Regions from separate parts of the Homo sapiens genome. Here region 1 is linked to region 2. Evidence: promoter capture Hi-C in 16 types of primary human blood cells and fetal thymus (Javierre and others, 2016). All regions are on one chromosome and are shown on one strand. The core of a region is centred on a gene start or on the middle of the fragment in contact, and the rest is flanking DNA. Distances in the headings are between cores, read along the strand shown. Region 1 has its middle 46 kb from the start of JAK2. Region 2 holds the start of PDCD1LG2 (programmed cell death 1 ligand 2).

Evidence for each region. The method cuts DNA at HindIII sites, captures the fragments that hold promoters and counts their contacts. A CHiCAGO score of 5 or more calls a contact.
Region 1: a contact is called between a fragment that was not itself captured here and the fragment with the promoter of PDCD1LG2 in region 2, in 1 of 17 cell types (M0 macrophages). The highest score is 5.2, in M0 macrophages.

Annotation. Positions count from the first base shown.
Region 1 is chr9:4,938,152-4,940,851 of GRCh38, forward strand. No RefSeq gene overlaps it. Among named protein-coding and RNA genes, the nearest start is that of JAK2, 46 kb to the right of the region's middle. The HindIII fragment of the contact is 6,163 bases long and covers 1-2,700 here.
Region 2 is chr9:5,509,173-5,511,872 of GRCh38, forward strand. PDCD1LG2 (programmed cell death 1 ligand 2) reads left to right here and starts at 1,359. Exons shown (of 7, transcript NM_025239.4): 1 at 1,359-1,631. All of the region lies in intron 2 of INCR1 (interferon stimulated noncoding RNA 1), which reads right to left. RefSeq lists enhancers at 1-1,106, 1,048-1,127, 1,188-1,247, 1,408-1,457. The HindIII fragment of the contact is 25,064 bases long and covers 1-2,700 here.

The DNA.
Region 1 (2,700 bases), core at 134-2,633, 570 kb before region 2:
ATGGAAATTTTTGAGATCCATCATTTCTAAAGATGAAGAGAAGAGGCTGTGTAGCCACCAAATGCTTGCTGGCCCTCTAACGCCTAAAGTGCTACATTTATTTATTATAAGAATATAGAGATAATAAGACTGTTTATGAATTACAAATCAATAATGAAATAACTCTTGGGCTAAGGACAAAATCAAATGGAAATTATAAATCACATAAATATGAATGGGCACAGAAGCATTACTCTACAAAATCTGTGGGGTATGGTCAACATGTTGTTCAGAGGGAAATCTATAGCTTTCAATGTCCATATCAGAAAAGAAGAGACATGGAGAATAAATTAACCAAACTTTCAAATCAAAATTTAACTTCCTAATTCAACCATCAAACAAACAAACAAACAAACAAACAAACAAATAAAACACAAAGTAAAGAGAATGGAAAAAAATGTAATGGCAGGAAATAATGTGATAGAAAAGGATAATAGAGGCTGCTGAACTTGAGGAAATCCTCCTTTTACACAACAAGGATGTCAGCTGCCCAGACTCTGACTTGGAGACTCACCTCCCAGCCCAAGGAATATGCGTTATGAGAGTAAGAAATACATGATTACACCTCTGCATGGATGACTGCAAAGGGGACAATAATAACTAACAATAAGACCCATGTGTCAAGCATTATGCCAGGCAGCTTATATAAATTATATGGTTTAGTTGTATTTCTTCCTCATTTTCTGATAAGAATATTGAAACACAGGATGGCCTAGTAATTTCCTCAATACTGAGGGACAGTAATTAATGTAGCTGGAACTTGAACTTCAGAAGGGTTATTAAGTGGGGTTTAATTTACCACATGTTGTTAAAGATGCCATTGGCTTTAGAAACATCTTGTTTTGAAAATTCGTATCTGTTTGGGAAGATCATGATACTATCAGTCGGTCATGCTTTAGAGTGAAATGGTTCAAACAGATTGCTTTCCTTTCAACAGCTAGCTGAGGTTAGCTGTGTTAAGAGAATGGGAGTTTTGAAGTGGTTAAAGAGAAAGAAGTAATGCAGGAGTGGCACTGCTTAGAGGCTAACACCCCCATCGGAATACTGGGCAGCTGGTAAGCAAAAGTACAGAAAGGGAAGTGAGAAGATGCCAAAGATAAACTCTATTTCAAAATTCTGACTATGGTCAGCCCCACCCTCAAGAAGAGAGGGACAGGTTCTTCCTCTTTTTCTGTCCTGTACAAAGCAATCTCCTATTCCCAGGACCAGGAAGTTCAGGTCCAAGGGCCACTCTAAGGAAAATAGAGTTGGAAGGGACTTTAGGGGTCCTATCCAGTCTACTCACCACAAGGCCTCCCACACCCTCCTGCATGAATCCTCCAAACTCCTCCTGACCATCTTTGCATCTTTGTTGCTCCTTTGTTGTCTATTTGGGGCTCGAGTTAGTTGTTAGAAATTCCTTTCTATCAGCCAACAATCTTATCTCCCTTCAACTTCCCCTCATTTGTCTTATATCTGCCCCTGGAATTGCCCAGTCTGTGTGGTATTTGTTCCAATGGAATTTGATCTGTCATATACTGTTGCTTTTGGCTGATTTGCTAAATTGACTGGATCTCTCTCTAAACTCAATGATTTGGATCAAGGTAAATGCTGGTAAAATGTGCCAGCAATTTCTTTTTCAGAAAGATCTTGCTATTGCTCTGTTACTTTTGTTTGTTTGTTTTTTTTTAAAGAATGTTCCCAATAGATTCATTTTGAGGGAATAGATTCACCTATGAATCCATGGAGTGACCCACACAAAACACCTACATAAAAAAGAAACAAAAAGAGTATGTTTTCTTACTGACAAACACTACTTGAAAGCTCTTCAAGTCCTTCGTGGTATAATAAAGTAAATAGATATTGAGAAGAAGAGATCATCTAGTTAACAAACATGGAAAAATGTTCCACCTCACTTTTAATTTTAAAAGTGATAAGATACCCCTTCCATTCATTTGGCTACAAAGCATAGCAACATTTATAATAATATTTAATGTTTGTTAGTACTATAGTACATTACCAGTAGAATTAGAAACGTCTTTTAGAAATTGATTTAGCTATATGTATTGAGATCTTTTAGTTTTATTTATTTAGTAATTTTTAGAGGCAGGGTCTTGCTATGTCGCCCAAGCTGTTCTTGAACTCCTGAGCTCAAGGGATCCTTTTGCTTCAGTCTCCCAAGTAAGTAGAATGACAGGTGCAAGCCACTGCACCTGGCTATCAGGAGATTTTAAAATATTCTCATCCTTTCACCTAGTAGAATCTCCTGGGTATTTGTACTAAGGAAATAATCCAGAGATTAAAAAAATATGCCTACGGTTTGCACTTCTCACAGGAAAATTATTCATAATAGTGAAAAATTAGTCACAGCCTAAAATCTAACAACAGGAAATAGTTTAACTAGATTATGGTGCATCCACTCAATGGAAGATTATACAGCCATTTCAAATAACGATTATGAAAAAAACATTATATGTAATCTATATTGTCCTAGTGGAAATATCTTAGGTAAGTCAATGGTAGCGAATCAGAAAAATATTGAGACTCAGTAGTTTTTAGCCACATGAAAAATTCTTGCAGTATATAAAAAACAATGTATACAAAGAAATGCACCAAAATTATTATTATGACAGAAAAAGGGTGGGAGAAGTGTTTTTATATTTAATCAAGAGCTGTACTGTA
Region 2 (2,700 bases), core at 109-2,608:
GCTTTTGTAGAAGAAACAAGGAGGCAGGGAAGGCTTAGAGGACAGGCAAGGAGAGATGTTTTCTTAAAAACATCCTCTGTCTGAGTGTTCAGCCCCACATCTCTGCTGGTCCTACCCCTATAAGCACAAGGAAAAGGGCGGGAGGCAGCAGGAGAAGGATTGATCATTCAGGCCTATATTCAAGTTTGCCTTTTCTTGCCATGTGGTTTTAATCTCACCAATCACAAGCCTGAAGGTATAGTGGGGCCACTGAGGTCCGAGTTCAAATTCAGCCATGCAACTAAGGAAACATTGTTTGATCTTGGTCCTGTTTTCTCATGTGTAAAATGGGTCTAACTCTAAACCACACATTGCACTGAGAATGAAATGAGGCACTATGAAATGAAGTGAGGTTAGTTGAATAATGTTCCCCCCAAATTCATGTCTACTGAGGACCTCAGAATGTGACTATATTTGGAAGTAGGGTCTACGCAGATGTAGTCTAAATGAGGTCATACTGCATTAGGGTGGGCACTAATCAAACGGATGGTATCCTCATAAGAGGAGAGGAATGTAGAGATACACACAGAAAAGAATGTCATTTGAAGATGGAGGCAGAGATTGGAGTGATACAACTATAAGTCAGGGAATGCCAAGGACTTGAGGTCATGTGTTACAGAAGCCCTAGGAAATGAGTCAATTTCCTGGCACAGCACTAAGACATGCTGGTATTCTTCATTCCATCCCTTTCCCCTATTCCTAAATGTGCTCCAGGGACAATGGGGAAGCTGGAGCACATATAAGAATAGGGGAAAGAGAGGGAATAAAAGGGTATTAAAAACTCTCAAGGTATGTTAAAAAAAAGACTCTCAACAAACCAGGTATTGAAGGAACATACCTCAAAATAATAAGAGCCATCTATGATGAACCCACAGCCAACATCACACTGAATAGGCAAAAGCTGGAAGGATGCCCCTTGAAAACCGGCACAAGACAAGGCTGCCTTCTCTCACCACTCCTATTCACCATACTATTGGAAGTCCTGGCCAGAGCAATCAGGCAAGAGAAAGAAAGAAAAGGCATCCAAGAAGGAAGAGAGGAAGTCAAACTACCCATGTTTGCAGATGACATAATTTTATATCTAGAAAATCCCACAGTCTCAGCCCAAAAGCTCCTTAAGCTGATAAACTTCAGAAAGTTTCAGGATCCCACATGAACATACAAAAATCACTAGTATTCCTAAACACCAACCATAGCTAAGCCAAGAGCCAAATCAGGAATGCAATCCCATTCACAGACAAACTGCTAAAAGCAAAACCAAAACTTTCCAAATAAGCCAGGCTTTCGTCAGTTCCTCAGAACTAGTTCTGGTTTGACTCACTCTCATGTTACGGCAAACCTTAAGCTGAATGAACAACTTTTCTTCTCTTGAATATATCTTAACGCCAAATTTTGAGTGCTTTTTTGTTACCCATCCTCATATGTCCCAGCTAGAAAGAATCCTGGGTTGGAGCTACTGCATGTTGATTGTTTTGTTTTTCCTTTTGGCTGTTCATTTTGGTGGCTACTATAAGGAAATCTAACACAAACAGCAACTGTTTTTTGTTGTTTACTTTTGCATCTTTACTTGTGGAGCTGTGGCAAGTCCTCATGTGAGTAACGAGTGGGTTGAGATACTCTCATACTATTATGTTGTGGACCATGATGAGGCTGCCAGGGTGGGGGAAGGGTGGCCTACCTTCTCTCCACACCATTTGAGGCAAGAGACATTCTGCCTCAGAAATTGTGCTGAGGGGCACAAATAAGCTAATGTCCTCCTGCCCCAGATTTCTCTCACTTGTTCCTATGCATATTGTTCTTGTTGCTCAGTTTTATAAGGTGAGATATTTTCTGCACCAAATATGTGCACTGTAAAATAATATAACTATTCTTAAGATTGTCTCTCAGCTTAGAGTTTTCGGAGGCTTAATGGTGAAGAACTTAAAAATCTGTTTTCCTATGACTGACATCTGTTTGTGATTATCCATTTAGCAGACGGTGATCCCTCCAGGCTGGCCTTTGTTTACAAGCTATGCCTAAGAGGCAGCTGTTGGTGGAGGGGGAACAAAAACAAAAAACCCAAAACTATTATCTTAATAACTTATAGAGGTAATCATTATTGAACAAAAGCATGATTTGGGGACTATGGAAAGGCTTATTCTTTCCATATAAAATGATCAGCGAAAAGGTAGAAAAATTAAACAGAACTGAAATAATTGCTATTGATTGCTCACCGCCTGGATGCACTGAGTAGAAGAGCAAAGGCAATGGGTTCATGTGGAGGGGATGGAGGTGGAGAGGCTAAGCCTGAGTGAGATTACCAACTAATCAGGACTTTTAACCCAAAAATACTATGGCTCTGAGGGGCAGGGAATGAGAGACCTAAATTGACAAAATGCAGAGTAAAAATATTCAGTGTGAGCAGTAATGAGACAGTTGTATCAGGGTCAAATACGGAGTTGGCCTGGATGTCCTCCAAGCTCCTTTCCAAGCCTAAGATTCTGTGAGTGGATGAACAATCCTGGTCCTGCTGCTCTTGCCACTGGAACCTGATCTATTTGCCTTCATTATTTGAGGTCTCCCCATCATCAGGCTCTTTGTTGTCTGCTGCTTCAGGGTGTCTTCTCCCCAGATTTCTCCTGTTGGTGAGCTTTTCCATTGAACTGGAGCTCCTCACAGGCA